Linked DNA regions of Homo sapiens: regions 2, 3, 4 and 5 are each linked to region 1. The links are contacts of gene promoters, found by promoter capture Hi-C in human tissues and cell types (Jung and others, 2019). All regions are on one chromosome and are shown on one strand. The core of a region is centred on a gene start or on the middle of the fragment in contact, and the rest is flanking DNA. Distances in the headings are between cores, read along the strand shown.

The links. The method cuts DNA at HindIII sites, captures the fragments that hold promoters and counts their contacts. A contact is called where the count stands out against the background at its distance.
Region 2: a fragment that was not itself captured here is called in contact with the fragment with the promoter of NUFIP1 in region 1 in 1 of the 25 tissues and cell types used here (dorsolateral prefrontal cortex).
Region 3: a fragment that was not itself captured here is called in contact with the fragment with the promoter of NUFIP1 in region 1 in 1 of the 25 tissues and cell types used here (dorsolateral prefrontal cortex).
Region 4: a contact is called between a fragment that was not itself captured here and the fragment with the promoter of NUFIP1 in region 1, in 1 of the 25 tissues and cell types used here (hippocampus).
Region 5: a contact is called between a fragment that was not itself captured here and the fragment with the promoter of NUFIP1 in region 1, in 1 of the 25 tissues and cell types used here (dorsolateral prefrontal cortex).

Annotation. Positions count from the first base shown.
Region 1 is chr13:44,987,428-44,991,617 of GRCh38, reverse strand. It overlaps NUFIP1 (nuclear FMR1 interacting protein 1), which reads left to right and starts at 2,147. Exons shown (of 10, transcript NM_012345.3): 1 at 2,147-2,593. The coding sequence starts at 2,182. It overlaps GPALPP1 (GPALPP motifs containing 1), which reads right to left and starts at 2,080. Exons shown (of 8, transcript NM_018559.5): 1 at 1,876-2,080. The coding sequence starts at 1,963. RefSeq lists enhancers at 1,334-1,970, 1,897-2,086, 2,277-2,346, 1,971-2,609. The HindIII fragment of the contact is 10,586 bases long and covers 1-4,190 here.
Region 2 is chr13:43,893,667-43,897,559 of GRCh38, reverse strand. It overlaps LACC1 (laccase domain containing 1), which reads right to left. Exons shown (of 7, transcript NM_153218.4): 7 at 3,628-3,893. Among named protein-coding and RNA genes, the nearest start is that of LACC1, 16 kb to the right of the region's middle. The HindIII fragment of the contact is 3,971 bases long and covers 1-3,534 here.
Region 3 is chr13:46,161,864-46,165,931 of GRCh38, reverse strand. All of the region lies in intron 1 of LCP1 (lymphocyte cytosolic protein 1), which reads left to right. Among named protein-coding and RNA genes, the nearest start is that of LCP1, 18 kb to the left of the region's middle. The HindIII fragment of the contact is 3,518 bases long and covers 735-4,068 here.
Region 4 is chr13:43,301,463-43,305,280 of GRCh38, reverse strand. All of the region lies in intron 11 of ENOX1 (ecto-NOX disulfide-thiol exchanger 1), which reads left to right. Among named protein-coding and RNA genes, the nearest start is that of ENOX1-AS2, 150 kb to the left of the region's middle. RefSeq lists an enhancer at 1,775-2,004. The HindIII fragment of the contact is 5,794 bases long and covers 1-3,818 here.
Region 5 is chr13:43,914,222-43,918,433 of GRCh38, reverse strand. No RefSeq gene overlaps it. Among named protein-coding and RNA genes, the nearest start is that of LACC1, 36 kb to the right of the region's middle. The HindIII fragment of the contact is 3,808 bases long and covers 971-4,212 here.

The DNA of each region.
Region 1 (4,190 bases), core at 898-3,397:
GATTTTTTGGCAACCGTTTTAGGTTCAGCCATCTAGGCGGTTATGAAGGGAATGGAATTATAGCAGGGGAGATTATGTGTTTAAAATGACACACTACGTGTAAGATATTGTGCTTGACGAAGAGAAGTCATTCAACAAATATATACGAAGAATCTTTTTCTTTTTTTTTTTTGAGACAGAGTCTCACTCTGTCGCCAGGCTGGAGTGCAGTGGCGCGATCTCGGCTCACCGCAACCTCCGCCTCCCAGGTTCAAGCAATTCTCCTGCCTCAGCCTCCCAAGTAGCTGGGACTACAGGTACGTGCCACCATGCCTGGCTAATTTTTGTATTTTTAGTAGAGACAGGGTTTCACCATGTTGGCCAGAATGGTCTCGATCTCTCGACCTCGTGATCCGCCCGCCTCGGCCTCCCAAAGCGCTGGGTTCACAGGCGTGAGCCACCGCACCTGGCCTTATTTTATTTTTTTAAAGCTATCTCCTACAGGAAGGAAAGCATAATTTTTCACATTTACTTTTATTTATTTATTTATTGAGACAAACTCTCGTTCCGTCGCCCAGGCTGGAGCGCAGTGGCACTCTCGGCTCACTGCAACCTCCGCCTCCTGGGTTCAAGCGATTCTCCTGCCTCAGCCTCCAGAGCAGCTGGGATTACAGGCGCCCGCCACCACGCCCGGCTAATTTTTGTATTTTTAGTAGAGATGGGGTTTCAACATGTTGGCCAGGCTGGTCTTGAACTCCTGAGTTCAAGTGATCCGCCCCGTCTCAGCCTCTCAAAGTGCTGAGATTACAGGCTTGTGCCACCTCGCTCAGCTGGAAGGCATAATTTTTAAAGTGGTTATGACAGAAATTATATTGGAAAGGGGCCTGTAGTAGAAACATAGCCTCCGGGTAGACCAGGAAGAAAAATTAGATTCAGAAATGGCAGGGTTACTCTTTCAGCTTTACTCTTCTCCAACTGGGTGTCGGTGCTAGTCTACAAATGTGAATAAACATTAAAGCAGATAGGTATGCATGCCGGAATCCGAGAAGCATTCGTTTCGTATATACCAAGTGCCTGTTGCGTGTTCAGGTAGAAGACCATAGTGCAATGGTGGAGACAGATTATGTCGACAAATTATTCAAATACAGTGTACTAAATATGCAATGTAATTAGGAAAAAACCCGAGGGCAAAAAGAAAGGCATGACAATGCTTCGGGGAATCTGGAAAGGTTTTATTGGTGTGACATTTAAGTTGGGCCTTGAAGGATGGGGAGAAGTTTGTCAGTTATGTTTAGGAATGCAACCAGAGGAAGCCCAGAAGCCTAGAGCGTTAAGGAATTGCGCAGCAACTCAGACTGGATTGAGTATTGGGCTGTGTTTGTCAGATGCAATAACAGAATGAGAGGCTAGGAAGGCAGGTCGGGGGCTGGAGAGAACAGGATCTGCAAGGTTCTTGTAATCAGAAGGCAATATGGCACAGAGGTTAAGAGAACCGCTTCCTTCTAAGTCGCGCTCCATCACTTGCTAGCAGTATGATCTAGACACTGGCATGGGCTTGGGCGTACCCATTTGCAACATGGGAAAATAGTTTTTTTCTTATACGGCTTAAATGACTGAGTGGGTATCAGTCAGTTAGGGCAGCGTGCAGCTCATATTAAGGCTAAATGAGAATGTATTATCATCACGAAGCCAAACCACGCCAAAGCTCGTTTCTAGGAGGGTCCCCCAGCCTCCTCCCCCCTGCTACTGTTTGGGAAGAGAAAAGTTCTCTCGGGTCAGGCCGCGCCCACTCCCCACTCCTCCGCCCTCCTAGGCCTCCGACTTTCTTCAGCGAGCAGGGCCCGGCCAGGGAGTGGGTAGATGGGCCTGGTGGGCAGCGGAGACGCCGCCGCTTACCAGGGCTCGGGTCCCGCTCTTCGTCCTCCGCTGTTCCGCGGGCCTTGAAGCCGGGCGGCAGGGCCGGTCCGATCAGGTCTCTTGCCATCCGCGGTGGCGGACACTGGTCACAGATATGAGTCTATCCACGAACGTCAACCCTATCCAAAAAGAATCCCGCGATCAGCAGCGAAGAATGGCAGGTTTCCCGGCGCCGAGAAATGACGTAAAGCCTGTGGTTGGCTGAGCCTTGTAGTTCACGGTAAAGGAAGTGACGCCTAATGCTTGCTCCACAGTCGCGTGCTAGACTCCGGACCCGCCAGTGGTATGGCTGAGCCGACTAGTGATTTCGAGACTCCTATCGGGTGGCATGCGTCTCCCGAGCTGACTCCCACGTTAGGGCCCCTGAGCGACACTGCCCCGCCGCGGGACAGCTGGATGTTCTGGGCAATGCTGCCGCCACCGCCACCACCACTTACGTCCTCGCTTCCCGCAGCCGGGTCAAAGCCTTCCTCTGAGTCGCAGCCCCCCATGGAGGCCCAGTCTCTCCCCGGGGCTCCGCCCCCCTTCGACGCCCAGATTCTTCCCGGGGCGCAACCCCCCTTCGACGCCCAGTCTCCCCTTGATTCTCAGCCTCAACCCAGCGGCCAGCCTTGGAATTTCCATGCTTCCACATCGTGGTATTGGAGACAGTCTTCTGATAGGTTTCCTCGGCATCAGAAGTCCTTCAACCCTGCAGGTAGGCTATTTTTCCACGTGAGTCGACCCCTTTACCTTTTTCCCCCGTTCTTTCCTCTCCCCTTTCTCTGCTTCCTCTCTCTACTCTGCCTTGCCTCTGCACTCTTGGAGTCTGGTCATTAGCATCTCAAAGCAAAGTGAGACCCCCGTCTCTACAAAAAAAATAAAATTAGCCAGGCATGGTGGCATGCCTGTGGTCGCAGATGCATGGGAGGCTGAGGCAGGAGGATTCCTTGAACCCAGGAAGTCGAGGCTGCTTTATCAACTAAGTTTATATAATATTGTAAATCCTTTGTTCTCAAAATATGTCTGACTAGAATGTTTTCCTGTTGACTGTTAATTCCATTTAGCAGTTATTTATTGAATTCCGACTATGTACCAGAATCTGGGTATATAGCAGTGAGCAGAACATACAAAAAATATTATGGAGCTTAATATTATCTCTCTTGTGTAGGAAGACAGACAATAAGCAAAATAAAATATTGTGCATTAGAAGGTTGAGTGGCATGGAGAGAGATAAAACAAAGAAGAATGGTAAGTAGTGCAGGATTTTCTTTTTTTCTTTTTTTTTGGAGACAGAGTGTCGCTCTGTCGCCCAGGCTGGAGTGAAGAGTAGCGCGATCTACTTCACTCCAGCCTATGCAGTCTCTGCAGAGAGGCTCACTGCAACCTCTGCCTCCCGAGTTCAAGCAATTCTCATGCCTCAAACTCCTGAGTAGCTGGGACTACAGGCCCACGCCACCACACCCGGCTAATTTTTTATATTTTTAGTAGAAAGGGGGTTGCCCCGTGTTGGACAGGCCTGTCTCTAACTCCTGAGCTCAGGCATCCGCCCGCCTCAGCCTCCCAAAGTGTTGGGATTACAGGCATGAGCCACCACGCCGGGCCAGGTAGTGCAGTTTTAAATGTCATTGTTAGTCATAAGGAAGGTGACATATGAGCGAAGACTTTAGGGAGGTGAGAGATCACAGCCATGCATACAACTGGGAGAATAGGGGTACGGGCAGAAGGAACTGCAAGTGCAAAGGTCTTGAGGCTTAGAAGCTATACATCAGAATGGGAACCAGTGTGGCTACAGAGGACTGAGTCTGGAGTATAATTGTAGAAGATGGGGGAGGAGGGTAAGACCTGGTATGTCTTTGTAGATCGTGGGACTTTGACTTTTACTGTTGTGAGGTGGGTAGTACAGCGGATTGACATGACCTGATTTACGTTTTAAGAGGATTAATGTGTCTGTTGGTGAGAACTGACTGAAAGGGAAACCGGTTAGGAAGCTATTGTAGTTACTTTTCTAAACAAGAGATATTGGAGACTTGGACCAGGGTGAAGCCCAAGGGATGGTGAGAAGTAGTTGGATTCTAGATCTGGGGATACCTTGGAGCTCTTGTGGGTTCAGTTACAGACCACTGCAGTAAAGCAAGTCACACAATTATTTTTTTTTTGGTTTTCCGTTGCATGTAAAAGTATGTTTTCCTGCAGATCCTATGGGGCAAAAAAGTTATTTTTACATTATACCATAGTCTAGTAAGTGTGCAATACCATTATGTCTTAAAAAACAACTTACATACCTTGATTAAAAAATACTTTAGGCTGAGCAG
Region 2 (3,893 bases), core at 300-2,799, 1.1 Mb after region 1:
AATCTGAGTTCTAGTCAGTCTTTGAATGCCAACCAACCTATTTGGTCTGGCCTAGCTTAATGGCATACTCTAGGAAATGAAAAAAGTACAGAATGGCTACAGCATGGGGAGTGGTAGAAATTAAAGAAGTATGCAGGGGCAAGAGGATGACAGCACTTATACATTTTAGTGAGTAGGTCTTTACCTTGGAGGCAGTGGGAAAGCCATAAAAATTTTTTGAGAGATGTAATATGACCAGATTTGCATTTTAAAACAATCAATAATGATACTGTAAGAAGGGATTCAATAAGGAAAGACTAGTCAGAAGGCTGCTCTAATGATACAGGTGAGAGATGATGACCTGAATGTCTGTGAAAGTTGAGAGACATGGGAACACATGGTAGACATACAGTCAGTAGTGTGGGAAGGGAAGGGGAGACGGAAAGGGAGGCATTCAGAAACACTCCAGGGTTTCTGGCTGGGCAACTGCATGAATAATGATTTCATTCTCTGAGACAGAAGACAGGATGGGAGCAGGTTTTGGAGAGAAGATGATGAGTTAAGTTTGGAGGATATATTTGAGGGGACACAGGATATGTCAAACAGATAACTCTATTAGCCAAATCTGGATATGTATTGAAAAGTAGAAAACCAAAGGAATGAAGGTACCTTGTAAATATGAAATATCAAGTATGAAAACGAGGCTGATGGGAGGGATAAGAAAATACAATCTTGGCCGGGAGCGGTGGCTCACGCCTGTAATCCCAGCACTTTGGGAGGCCGAGGGGGGTGTATCATGAGGTCAGGAGATCGAGACCATCCTGGCTTACAAGTGAAACCCCGTCTCTACTAAAAATACAAAAAATTAGCTGGGCGTGGTAGCGGGCGCCTGTAGTCCCAGCTACTGGCGAGGCTGAGGCAGGAGAATGGCGTGAACCCCGGGAGGCGGAGCTTGCAGTGAGCCGAGAGCCCGCGCCACTGCACTCCAGCCTGGACAACAGAGCGAGACTCCGTCTCAAAAACAAAACAAAACAAAACAAAACAACAACAAAAGAAAGAAAATACAACCTTAAAACATGAGCTTTAAAAACGTAAGGAACAGGAAAGCATGGTGAGATGTAAACTGAAGCAGCGTGTGATGCAGAATTCTGAAAATGAAGGGTATTAAAAACCCAATTGTTACCATGAACAAATCTCTTTTCTACAAATGTTTCTCATGAAATGAGAGTACTCCCTTTACTCCCCTTTTTTGTCTTTTGTTTTGTTTTTGGTTAGAAAGGAATGTGGTATTTTGAGCTATAGTGTCTGCTGGAAATTTTGTTTAACAAAATGTAGTAACTGGACACCTCAACCTTCTGAGAATTAAATAAAACAAAAAGTCTGCTCCAAATACAGCAGAGACATAGCTCACCTCAGGCGCTTGGCAAAAGGACATGGGGAATGTGATGTAAGCATTTCTTTCTCTACAAAAATGCATCTAAGGAGAGTATGAAAAGTTTGTCTCAACACAGTTGACATGTAATCACTGTGACTTCAAACCAAACGTGTTAATCTGGAAAAAGCAGTACTGGCAGATTTCTTTTTTCTTCATTAAGCAATGACCTAGCACAGAACAATGCATTGCTTATGGCAATCTTTGAAATCACAAGTAAACTTTAAAAACACTGCCTACAATGGAAATGCACGTGCCCTAGATCAGGGTTCACACAAACACATCCAGTAAGCATATGGACCATGCTTTCCATTCTTTACTGCATAATTTATTAAAAAATCTATAGAGAGAAATCTATTATTCTACTGCATCCAATGTGTTATGTGTGTGTTAATTTATATTAGCTAGGGCAAAAAGGCTATGTGTCATATTTAACACACATATTTCTTATTTGCCATTTAGCACATACACAAAGACTCATGCATACAAACACGATAACACACAATAACTGAGTAATGCTTTCTTTAAAGTGCTGAACTTTCATAGATTGGTAGCATTCTCTAAGAGTTCACACAAAAAGTAAGATGGATACATTGGAAGTATAACTCTAGGACAATCAAGTAAAAATAAATATCAAATCCCACTTTGAGATATAAAAGCATATAACTCGTATGTCACTGTTATCTTTCCTTCCAGCTGCTGAATATATAGATATTATTTCTGTTTTGTCATGTTACATAGAATAAGCTTCTCTGAGTTTCTCCCAAAAATCTACTTACAGAAAAGCAATTACTAGAGATTCTGTAGGAGTGAGATAGAAGTGGGTGAGGGTTCCTAAATGCTTTTATCTACTTGAACTACCACGTTATACCTAAAGTAAGAGCAATACATTCACTAACTTTAAATGCGTCCTCCCCTCCCTTTTTATTCCACAAGAAAATACAGAGTTTAAGATTAGTTCAACTTCACATGACTGTGATGCACAAATTCTTTAAGTGTAAGGAGTCTATGCATTTTACAGTAACTTATTTTATGATTGGGAGATGAGACAGTTATACATTCAACTGCCATTATTTTTATTAAGTGCTTTCATTTTCTTTACAGTTATTACAAAATTGTATTTATTTTATACAGATGGGTTTTCATTTTCCTGATGCTGTAATGTTTACTTCAGCTTGTTGACCTTTCTTTGTGTTATCTGCATGTTGTAACGTGTGATAAGAATGAATGTAAAGGCTGTGGCAACTGTAATTAATTTTTGTAAAGGGCTGGTCACACGTGGATCTGGTTTATGAATGTATTTGGGATGATTTTAGTAACCAGATCACCTTTTCAGAAATTTAGATGTGAACACCAAAAGATGCATTTTCTCAACAAAAATTAATAGCTGGTTCTATTTTTTTAAACCTAGAAAAAATAAAGTTGATTTTTTTCAAAAAAAAAAAAGATTAGTTCAACTTTATACCAAGAAATAATAGTAGAGCTACTTGTTGAAATACCACCTCCTAGTGGTAAGGTCATCTTATTTGTTTTATAAAGCACTGGGGTATAGCATATTTGGCCACTGTGCTATTTTTCACAATTTAAAATTACAGTTGGATAAATGGCCCAGTAAGTTTTAGTTTGATAGTATTTTCAAAAAGGTATTTCATTAATGTTTATTTGACTTACAAACTTAATTCCCCTTATTAATAAAATAGCAATCAATATTTCCTATGTGCAGTTAGTAGCAGTGCTTAGATTAAAAACAAAACTTTAAGAGGAATAAGTTCTAGTGTTCTATACCACTGTAGGATAACTATAGTTAACAATAGTATATTATATAGTTTGAAATAGCTGGAAGGAACATATTAAATGTTCGTAACACAAAGAAAAATGTTCGAAATGATAGATATGCTAATTACCTTGGTCAGATCACTGTACATTATATGAATGGAAACATTATTATGTATCTCATGAATAGGTACCATTGTTATTTATAAATTTAAAATAAAATTAAAAACAAAAACAAAACTTACTAGAAATCTTTGTTGTTGTACCCCAAAAGTCCTAGAAACCTACATACAAATATGTGAGAGTGACAGCTATCTTGTAGACACAATAAGATGATTATTTAATAACCTGATAGTTTGGAGTTACTAAATCAACACTTTTCATTCAGTAAAGCAGCAAGGAGACAACCTTTCATTATATACTTTGGCAGAGATAATCCAAAATCAGATAATCAAAATAATTTTTATTTGGTTGTAGAATGTTGTAGTACATAAAGCAAAATGTGTCTGCAGGATACTCCAAATTTACCAACTTCAAACAAAATAATGCACAGTGAAGAATTAGAAAATTATCAACCTTACTCAATACATGGAAGTATTCCTTAATCTTCATCATTTTCATTAAACAAAATAATATTTTGGATGAGTTCAACATTTCTATCCTATGCTTTATGTTTAGTGCCTTCCCTGAATTGGAAAAAATGAGGTGT
Region 3 (4,068 bases), core at 1,244-3,743, 1.2 Mb before region 1:
AAATGAACAACCAATGCTTTTTTTTTGGCCAACGTCTTGAGATTCTACAACTATTGATTTAATAAATTTAAGTGCTCTCACATGCACTCACACAAAAAACTAGCAGCCCAGACGTGACCTTGATGAATGAGTTGTCTTTTTATAATAGATTTTTGATTTGGGCAGTAATTCAGAAGGGGATTTCCCAGATTGACCACGGATTTGCAGAAGACCTGAAAATGGTTTGTGGCAGGGCATATTTAGATGATGTAGTCATTAAAAAGGGCCACACTCAATGCAGGAGCAGTCGGGCAGAGCTGAAGAAACCACTCACTTATACCTTGGAAGATACATGCTTTCTTTAGCCCCTCCTTTTAAGCTCCAGATGCCTCAGCATGCCCATTACTGCAGCAGTATCTGTATAGTTTGCTGCCTATATGGTGCCAGTAATTTGCAAACTAAAGCCATCACCAACTAATCTTACTTATATTACTTATTAATCTTATAATATTATCATAACCCATATTTTCAAATATGCGTGAATTAAAATGGGTGCATTTTTGTTTTTTTTTTGTTTTTGAAATGGGGTCTCGCTCTGTCACCCAGGTTGGAGTGCAGTGGCATGATCTCAGTTCACTGCAACCTCCGCTTCCTGGGTTCAAGTGATCCTCCCACCTCAGCCTCCCGAGTAGCTGGGATCACAGGCATGCACCACCACACCTAGATAATTTTTGTATTTTTGGTAGAGATGGGGTTTCACCATGTTGCCCAGGCTGGTCTCGAACACCTAAGCTCAAAGCAATCCGTGCACCTCGGCCTCCCAACATGTTGGGATCACAGGCATGAGCCACTGCACCTGGCTCAATGTCTTTCTTAAAAATGATCTGGTCTGCCTGTTTTTACACTAATTATGTCCTCTTCCTGCTGCTTTGCTTTGTGAAATTACTGCCCTTTGCACATTCAGTTTAATTACTTAAAGGTCTCTGCTCAGTTATGGACCTTAGGGGCCCTTTTAATGGTAACTCCATCCTTTTCCTGCTCTGCTCATCAGCACCTGCATTTACAAGCTCCAGCCTGGCATTGCCTTGAGAATTTGTACATGGATAAAACATTTCTTCTCATTAGAACTTCAGTTTCCTTATTTATAAAATGAGGACATTGTAATAAATTATTTATGAGGTTCCTTCTGTCTCCAAAAGTTAGGTTGTGTTTCCAGGATATGCTGCTCATGCTGATGGTAAAAGGGACTCTCTCCAGATATCTATTCATGTTTCTGCCCAACAACAACAAACAGTATCACAGCAATGTCAGTTGCTGATTATCCCTTCTCCACTTTACCTTTTAAACTAAGTTAATCCACTTCTCTTTTGCATTTGCTGTTAAATCACTGAAGCATTTTGGATTTTTTAAATTTAAAGGTGTTCTTGCTGTTTGACTTCTCTGAGTTTATCCTCTCCACTCATAAATCTCGTAGAAAAATATTGTTACAGATGCTCAAGGCTTTTCATCTTGACCTACCTGCTGTGGTTTAAAAATAATATGATTTTAAAATACATGTACTTTCTATGTCTTTTAAATGAATGGGCCACTGCAATTTTTATGGTAAAAAAAATTTCCCATTATACCATGATCTTTAGATATTTTTTAGATTTTCTTTTTTTACCCAACACTGTAATTGTTTTGTTTCTTCATTGGCCCTACTTGTGACACTTAGAATGTAGTCTTGTTCTCTGCTTCTACTTATATTTATCGCTAGCTGCTGATAGCGCTCTAAAATCTAACATTCTTGTGTCAAGGGATAAGGCCAGGTTTAGAGTCAGAGATCTTGTTTGTCCTCCTTACCTTTGACATTGTTCCATGCTTTCAGGATAACTAACTGGGTCAATATAGACGTGCTTACCTAAAATGAAGAATAGCACCTGGCTTATAGTAGGCATTCATAAAATATTTGTTAAATGAATGAATGTATCTTATAATCCCATAAACACCTATGAACCAAGAGGTCTTAAGACATTTAAAAACATGAAGGGCTGGACAGCCGGAGAGCTGGAGAGCCTTCTATTCATGCATATGTGGATATGGTAGAGGGTATAGAAGAGACCTAAGCCAAGTTAGTCACAAGGATTTAGCAAAGTATATTAATACAAAGTTCTATACTAATTCCTTAAAACAGAAGCCTTGATTTCTGAGCACAGGAAAGCAAAAGCTTTCTACTAGAATGACTGGACAAGCTCACTATATTGTAGTTTTAAAAATCTCCCATGGGGCTATCCATAGTCCATATACTTAATAACTCATTGTTTTTTTTTTTTTTTTTTTAATTGATCATTCTTGGGTGTTTCTCGCAGAGGGGGATTTGGCAGGGTCACAGGACAATAGTGGAGGGAAGGTCAGCAGATAAACAAGTGAACAAAGGTGTCTGGTTTTCCTAGGCAGAGGACCCTGCGGCCTTCCGCAGTGTTTGTGTCCCTGGGTACTTGAGATTAGGGAGTGGTGATGACTCTTAACGAGCATGCTGCCTTCAAGCATCTGTTTAACAAAGCACATCTGGCACCGCCCTTAATCCATTTAACCCTGAGTGGACACAGCACATGTTTCAGAGAGCACGGGGTTGGGGGTAAGGTTATAGATTAACAGCATCCCAAGGCAGAAGAATTTTTCTTAATACAGAACAAAATGGAGCCTCCTATGTCTACTTCTTTCTACACAGACACAGCAACAATCTGATTTCTCTATCTTTTCCCCACATTTCCCCCTTTTCTGTTCCACAAAACCGCCATTGTCATCCTGGCCCGTTCTCAATGAGCTGTTGGGTACACCTCCCAGACGGGGTGGCGGCCGGGCAGAGGGGCTCCTCACTTCTCAGAAGGGGCGGCAGGGCAGAGGCGCCCCCCACCTCCCTCCCGGACGGGGCGGCTGGCCGGGCGGGGGCTGCCCCCCACCTCCCTCCCCGACGGGGCGGCTGCCGGCTGGAGACGCTCCTCACTTCCCAGACGGGGTGGCTGCCAGGCGGAGGGGCGCCTCACTTTTCAGACAGGGCGGCTGCCGGGCGGAGGGGCTCCTCACTTCTCAGACGGGGCAGCCGTGCAGAGACGCTCCTCACCTCCCAGACGGGGTCGCGGCCGGGCAGAGGCGCTCCTCACATCCCAGACGGGGCGGCGGGGCAGAGGCGCTCCCCACATCTCAGACGATGGGCGGCCAGGCAGAGACGCTCCTCACTTCCCGGAAGGGGTGGCGGCTGGGCAGAGGCTGCAATCTCGGCACTTTGGGAGGCCAAGGCAGGCGGCTGGGAGGTGGAGGTTGTAGCTAGCCGAGATCACGCCACTGCACTCCAGCCTGGGCAACATTGAGCACTGAGTGAACGAGACTCCGCCTGCAATCCCAGCACCTCCGGAGGCCGAGGCTGGCAGATCACTCACGGTTAGGAGCTGGAGACCAGCCCGGCCAACACAGCGAAACCCCGTCTCCACCAAAAAAATACGAAAACGAGTCAGGCCTGGAGGCGCGCGCCTGCAATCGCAGGCACTTGGCAGGCTGAGGCAGGAGAATCAGGCAGGGAGGTTGCAGTGAGCCCATACGGCAGCAGTACAGTCCAGCTTCTGCTCGGCATCAGAGGGAGAACGTGGAAAGAGAGGGAGAGGGAGACCGTGGGTTGAGGGAGACGGGAGAGGGAGGGGGAGGGGGAGGGAGGGGGAGGGGGAGGGAGAGGGAGAACTCATTGTTTAGTGAATAAATGGATGGATGGGATGTGTGTCTAACAGGAACATGAAGGCAGAGAACCCGAGTAGACAGCCTGGGAGAGGAGAAAAGACTTGGGGATTGGAGTTTTGGCTGCTTCTCCACCCAGCTGAGTGATTTGAGATCTGTATCTTAACTTCTCTGAGATACTGTTTTCTGATCTATACAATGAGAATATACATACCTATGCCATCAGCCTATATTGAAGGACATTGTAAGAAACACAAAACCTGTGTTTACCCCATCCCACAAATGGCCTCTTCTTAAAGCCTGTGTGAAGATTTTGCTGTCAGACATCAGATCTGCTGCCCTAAGAAAATTGGTTTGTCTCATAGATAGTGAATTGTATAA
Region 4 (3,818 bases), core at 321-2,820, 1.7 Mb after region 1:
GGAAGATTGATCAGTGGTGATACAGGTATTATTGAAAAGCAGATCAATTGTACTTTGTTGGTACCATAAGAGGCTCTCCAGCAGGAGACTGGCTGTTGGCAGATGTCATCCTAGGATACTTTCCAGCTCTGTGCCTGGCCACTGGGAGGCACTGATGGCAACAGCAGCCACTGAGAATGAGGCTACCAATGATGAAGGACCCCAAGCCTCTGTTAATCTTCTGACATGGTACTGGTCCTTGTCTTTGGCCTTCATTAGCCCAAGCAAAGTAGACTCAGGGGACAGAGTTCATGGGAGGTCAGCATAACGCAGAGGAGTTTCTGTCACCTTTATTCTAACTGAAGGCACAGACACCTTAAAAATCAAACATAGGTGAGTTCAGATGGATGGGGTGAATAGTCTCATACTGGATCTTTGGGAATCCTGAGATCAGCATGGGTCTATGGACAAAACTCTCTCAATAAAGCATTATTAGCAACTCAGGCTCTTGAGCTCTGGGATTAGTGGGTATCAGTGTGGCCGTTTGAGAGGAGAGGGACACAGGGCAGAAAGTAGGATCCCTAAGTGGTTCCAGCCAGGCCTCAAGATTTCCTGAAGAGTGAGTTTAACTTCTCCATAAATCATCCCCAAGTTTGTCCTGCAGAAAATACCTGCATGTTTATTTTAAAACAGGATCATCCTCTCTGCTTTCATAGCAGAGTCTCTCTCCAGCAGAACACTCCCCAGATAGAGCCAGAAATTGAATGTTTTACTTCTGTTAGGAGCAAACTAGCCACTACAGTAGGGTCCCTGGTTTACTCCTTTCTCTGGGATGGGCGGCACTTACATGGAGCTAAGCTAGCCTGGTGGCATTACATGGAGGAATATAGTCCTAGAGCCACACCTTTTACCTCCAACCAGCAACCTCTGTCTCCCATAAACTCACTTCCATCATCTGGAAAATAGAAATAATAATCATATTGACTGTATCATGTTTTCATGATGGTGAAAGGATACTGTGTAAAGAATATGCTTACCTCAGTGCCTGGCACATAAAAATCATTAGCTGTCACTACCACTGTTGCTATTCCCATTACTGCTACTGTTATTTGAAGAAAGCAGAATAGTGACTGTGCCTTTTGCCCAAATCTTCCATAGGAGATAGCCAGGGCACGGGGCAAGCTGAGCTCATGGGACCTGGGCACAGGGATGCAACAGGGCTGCCTTCCCAGGTGCAGAACATGGAGTCGGGGCTCATACAAAAGGAGATCAAGGAATAAAACCAGAATGACAAGCCAAGCATGTGGTTCTTTCAGAAGCATTTCTCCAAACAAGCCAACCACAACCCCAGTTTAGGAATCGGGATAGAATGAGCAGCGGTCTGAGCAGTGGCTCTCAAAGTGTGGTCTCTGCACCAGCAGCATCAGCACCACCTGGGGGACTTGGAAGAATGCTAATTCTTGGGCTTCCTCCCAGACAAACTGAACTGGAAACTGAGGGTAGGGCCCAGAAAAGTGTGTTTTAATATGCCCGCCAGGAGCTTGTAATGCAGGCCAATGTTTGGAGAACACTGGGTTAGAGTAACACCAGCTGCTGTATAAAGATGGCCTAACCAAAAAAAAAAGTGTTACTTTTTGGGCACACAACAGTCCAAGGCAGATATTCTGGGCCTGTGGGCACCTTTCCTCCATGTGGTGACTCAGAGACCCAAGCCTATTCCAGCAGCAGGCAGAGACTGAGGGACTGTGCAGAAGGCATCCTCACTCCCCCTCACACTCCATTGATGAGACTGCTCACATGGCACCCTCTAGGGCAGTCACCTCTCAGGAGCAACACTGCTCTATACAAAGAGAAGCATGAGTTTGAGTACACAGCGTGATAATGTCTCTGCCACAGAATAGCTTCTAAAGGCCTCAAGGCACCTCACAAGAAGATTCAGAATGCAGAGAAGCAGATAGAAGCTGGAGAGAGTCCCTGTCACTGGGCCATAACTACAGCTCCCTTTCCTAGTGGAGCAGGAGGCAGGATCGTGGCTGAGGAGGCAGCCGTTGAAGGCACACAGATATTGTGGTGACATTTGCCAGGCCAGCCTGCCTCTGCCCTCCTGTGTTCAGGGGCTATCGGTACAACTGCCTTCCTGGGTAGCAGCCAATGAAATTCTTGAAAAAGACTTTCTTTGCATGTGGGAAGGAAATCTACAGTTCAGCAGCGTCCTTCCAGCATTTCAGGAGGACATCTGGCAAAGTGGAGGGGGAATGTTAAACACAGAGTTCCCCAAACACACAAAGACTAAGAGTTCTGGAGAAACACAGATATTGTTAGAAACGATATGTTAAAATGTTTTATTATTTAGTTACATCTTGCCTGAGCATGAAAAAGATATTAACAGACTGTCAGCTTACTGGGACATAACCCAAAACAACTTACATTTTTCATATATTGCTAACTATTTTTCTGAGGCTGGCTCAGGCTGGTAAAAGAGATTTCAAGGCTTTCTCCAGATTATTTACTTAAAGAAGTTAAGCATGGCATTATCTGTTCCCATGGAAACACAGTAAGACAGGAGACAGAAGAGGAGGTCACTTTGACCATAATTAATATAAAGAATAATGGTTTATATAGAATCTAGTAAAGAATATAACAAGATGCCGCAATACCTTTAAGCCTTTTCTTCAGCAGTGCCGTTCAACCTTTGGATTGATTTTCATACATTAGTGTCACTTTGGTCATTTTTTAGTCTAGTGCTAAGTTTTGAAGTATAACAATCTTGCCTAGCAAAATTTTTCCAATTTTATTATTTCATTTTTGATCCAATCAGAAAATTCCAGTATTCAGAATTTTTCTAAATTACTGAGTAACTAGAAATGGGTGACTGTGCTGGCCTTAAGCTTCTTGTGAATGCTACAGCTCCTCACCATGTTTTCTTAATAAATACATAAATGGGTGGCTGGTGAATTAATTGATGGTAATCCAGAGGCACCACTAGATTCAGCAGTGCCTTTAAAATCACCAACAAAATATTTAATCACATTCAGTCCGGTTGACATTTAAGGTGTCTAATTCTATTCTTTTTTTATTATCGGAAATTGGTAATCCACATGGGGTGTCTCTTACATATTCCATTTATTGGCACTCGGTGCACTCCTTAGGAATTCCTACCGAAAGATGCACACTGTACTTTTTTTTTTTTTAATCCTTATACTTATTTGGATAGTGGATTCATTGTGCAGTCTCATAAGGTAAATTTTATTATGGAAGCTTGATGACACATTTTTTCAAAACTCTTTAATTTAGTACAGTATTCCAGAAAGAAAGAAAGAGAAGAGAGAGAAATAAAAAGTTTCCCTTTCCAATTTCTGAATTTTTAATATACTGAGAAGTTATATTAAGTCAGAAATTATTAGGATTTTTTTTCTGTTAGCGCTCTGGCCCAAGAAACATAATATAGCCTCTTCCAGGCAGCCTTGTCTGAGGAATAGATTCAGGGCTGCAGTATGACACTGAGTGGTGTTTACAAACAGGTGGCCTGAAGCTAAGTGGAGTCAATATACAATTTCTCACCCTTTAGAAGATAACTACTTGCTGCCACATGAGTAACGAAAATTTTTTTGTAAAAACCAAGCTTGAAATCATTTAATCAGGAATGTAAATCAGTTATGTGCCCCAATTATAAAAATGTTGATGGAATTTGCTATGGTATTGATTTTTTTTTTTTTTTTGGTGGGGGAATTACAGCTGTTGTGGGTTTTTTTAATATGATGATATCACATTCCTATTCCGGGAATGCAAACAATATTATATACTGCTTGGCAGGCACTGTAGTCACTTGGCTTAGCCAA
Region 5 (4,212 bases), core at 1,625-4,124, 1.1 Mb after region 1:
TTTTCCAGTGACTTGGTACTTTACCAAAGTTAAGCGCATATTTTCTTTCTCTCTCCAGTTTCTCTTTCTTAACATGGAAACAATAATATGGTACCTATAATTTGCCTCAATAGGGTTATGGCGAATATTCTTCAAACTCATGAAAATTCTTCTGCACAAATATGAAGAGCCATTTTATATTGAAACTGTTATGATACACATTAAGAAAATATTAAAATAAAACATTACAGTAATAGCTTCACAGTGGCTAATAGAGCTGAAAGTCATAATTATACTTACACACTAGCCCTCAGGATACCTGATTACTGACCACAGACATTTTACTTCTCAGAAATGAAGGACAAAATGGTCTGTTCAGTTTATACCTTTGTCATCAGAATCGTTTATATTAACAAAAGTTCTATCCACTAAAGAGTTATTGCCTGTGACTCACATATTTTAAAAATATGCAGCCTGACTAAAGCATCCTCCAGCATCTAAGATCTCTCTTAGCCCAAAAGAGGTATGCAAATCTGACTTACTGCTTAATATTATTATCAAGATTAGTTTGATGGGCACTCTAAGTAAATCTAACCAAAGTAAGAAGAGTAGAATTATGGAGCAGGGGAAAGCATATGTAATTCATTCTAAATCTGTTATCCTGGGGTCAATTGACCAAGATGTTGGCATTATGTCACCTTACAGATACCAAGAGCCCAGTATCAAGTGAGGTATTAGACTGGATCACCTCTGTGCTCACTTTCAGGGGAAGGTTATGTGGAATGATAGGAAGAGTTTAAGGTTTTAGTTCCCACTCCCAAATTTGAACTGAAATTTGAATTTCAGTTTTATCTGTTGTATAATATTGGACAAATCATTTAATCTTTCTGAGTATCAGTTTCTTCTGTGTAAAATGGCCACAACACCAACCTCAGAGAATTGTAAAGGCTTTTGTTGCATTCATCACATCAAATTTTGTTTACAGTTCCTTCTGTGAGATTCTTGAAGGCAGAGACTATGTCTTATCCATTCCTAAATTTTGGATAATTAACATAGTGCCCAACAAATAAAAAACATTCAATGAATATTTGTGAAATTGTGTTGAATCAACTATTTGTACTAGTGCAGCCCTTTGACAACATACTGAATAATATTTTTGTAAAAACAAAAATTCCATTTTTAAATTCAGGTAGTATGGTAGATTAGAATTGTTCTGCAAATATTCACCTTTATCCTCCTCTTTGATGAGAAAAGTATATTCCCTAACCCCTGGAATTTAGTCTTGCCCATATGCCTTGCTTTGGCTAATAGGATGCTAGTGACCATGACCTGAGCAGAGGCTTGAACTGAGCTTGCATAACCGGGCTTGCTCTCTTGAACTCCTGCCTTTCACCACGAGAAGAGCATGTCTTGTGCAGCAAGTAGTCCAAGGAGGATGAGAGACATTTGGTGCCAAGCCCTCCCAAAGCCAAGCTGGGTCAGCCAAACCTCAATTGACTTTTAGATGTGTCAGCCAGAAATACTCATTACTCTACACCACAGTTTTGGGTGGTTTGCTAGACAACATAATTGTGGTGTAGCTTATTAAAACAGATGGTGTTTGATTAAAGAATGTACACCATTTGCTATGCTATAAGTTCTCAGAGTGGACTATACTTTCAAGCTGGGTCAATTTTTCCATTGAACTTAGTAGATTACCTACTAATATAAATGTGTTATTATTTATGTCTTATGATTCCAATGGTATAGTGGTTAAAATTGATAATCTGAGAGCAACTTCCTCAAGCAAAGTATTTTTTTCTAGGTGAAGTTCACCATGAGAAGTTCAAGTTCATTTGAAGTTTAATCTAGTGGAAATATTTTCCTTCTCCACTGCCTCTCATGTCACCTATGAATGTCTGGTGCCATTTTGGGCAGAACCAAATTTTTTTCTCTGCAGGCAGTATGATATAGGGAACTCCCATGGGGCCATATGTACAAATTGAGGGAGAAATGGTGATGAGCAGCCTTCTATTCATGGGAGTGGAAACAAGTCCTATTAACGTCTTAACACTGCCTTTGGGTTTTGCTCAGGCCCAATGTCATATACAGCATTTTTATTTGCTGATGGAGAATCTCTAGACACATTTAACTTTATGATCAGCTAGATCCAAACAATCAATTGATATTGGAAAGCTTAGGTCATTTGTAGACCTATGGTCAGGTATTCACTCCTATCAGGACCTGGCAGCAAGCCACAAACTGTTTTCAGAAGGAAAACAGTGACTTGATAAAGAGGTCATAGACTTGCTCCAAGATCCTACGGGCTCACACCGTGATTCTCTTAGTTGAACTTGGTGCAGGAGCAGGCTCCATTTAGATTCCTTATCTGCCACAGACACTTAAAGAACCTATGATCCAGCTGGGTGCGGTGGCTCACGCCTGTAATCCCAGCACTTTGGGAGGCCGAGGCGGGCGGATCATGAGGTCAGGAGATCGAGACCTTCCTGGCTAACACGGCGAAACCCCGTCTCTGCTAAAAATACAAAATGTTAGCCGGGCGTGGTGGTTACTCAGGAGGCCGAGGCAGGAGAATGGCGTGAACCTGGGAGGCGGAGCTTGCAGTGAGCCGAGATCGCGCGACTGCACTCCAGCCTGGGCAACAGAGTAAGACTCTTGTCTCAAAAAAAAAAAAAAAAAAAAAAGAACCTATGATCCACTGGTTTAGAAAAGCTGAAATTGCAGAGCCAGAGCCTCTTATAACTAAAGTCTGTACAACCATGGATTTCTTTTTGCTCTGGACTCCATTCAAGGCTGGAAATATTTTTGGTCAGTGACTAAATGAGTCAGAGCAGAACAACCAAATGTAGTATATGTTGCCTCAAAAATCCAAAGACACCTGTTAAACATTGTGCCTCTTTCTCAGTGGTAGGGGCACAAAGGCGCACAGTGTTTGCCTCTGGACAGAATAATCCAATATGATGAAAACAACCTGACTCTAGAAACTTCGCTGACATGGTAGGCACCTAAATGTTCATGGATTTTCTCCTCCAGCTACTGCCACGCATGTGCCTTAAAGGTTTCTAGGGTATCTGTTACTCCCTGCTATGCAGATCTTAACAGTAAAATGTCACAGATGTAGTGTACTAATGTGATGCTCTGTGAGGTGTTAGGACAGTTAAGGTCCTTGTGGGCCTAATTTTGACACAGAGCCAAAGAGCTGACATAAGCCTTAGACAAGATTGTTCTTTGGAATAGTGGGAAAATGGGCTAATTTAATGACTACATGTTAGATGCCAAGAGAGGTGTCAGTTTGTTTCAATAAAAAAGGCCACAGCTGAAACAGCAGCTTAACTGAAGTAACCATTGGTTGAGTTTTAATAATCCATTGCCATTCATGAAAATCCAGTCAAATTTGTATGTTAAATCTGAATATGAAAGGAATCACTTCTCCAAACAAACATAGCTTCTAGGTACATAGCTTCTAAGTTTTCAGTGGTGGCAATGATCTCTATGGTGCTTCAAGGATGCAGTATTGCTTTTGGTTTACTCTTTTGGTAGCATGAGGAAGGAGCTCCAGGAGCTTCTGCTTGGCCCCTGTATTAGCCTTTCAAGTAGTGTTCTATTTTGGCATGCATCAGAATCTCTTGAATGGAGAACATAAATTGTTAAACCCCACCCCCAGTTTTTGATCCAGTAAGTCTGGTTGGGGTTTGAGAATCTGCATTTTTAACAAGTACCCAGGTGATACTGATGCCAACGTAGATTATGACTACAGACTGCAGATTGGGTAAGTGAAAAGAAATTTTCAAATAAATTTACCAGCCTCAAGCATTTAACATAGTACCAGCATCAGTCCGTGTGTTTGACGAAGAAGAAAGTGGAGACGAGTGGTGAAGTTAGTAAGTCAATTCAGTGGCAGCTGGTGAAGAGATCTCCTATTATCCACCTCATATAGTTGCTGTAAATTTTAAATGAGGGTATGACTGTAATGTGATCAGCACAGTGCCTGGTATATGGAAACACTCAATAAATATTATTATTTCAGTTTTTTAAAATTAATTTTAAAATCCACCCAATATAGCCACTAATCACCTAAGCATCTTTGTATTAGTTATTTAACCATTTGGGCACTGAGTTTATTCATCTATAAAATAAAGTGGTTGAAATAGGTGATCTTTAATGTCTGTAAAAATCACTGGTTTTACATTAAAAGGAATCTATCATAGCTGTCTTAATTAAGGTTTTATACTC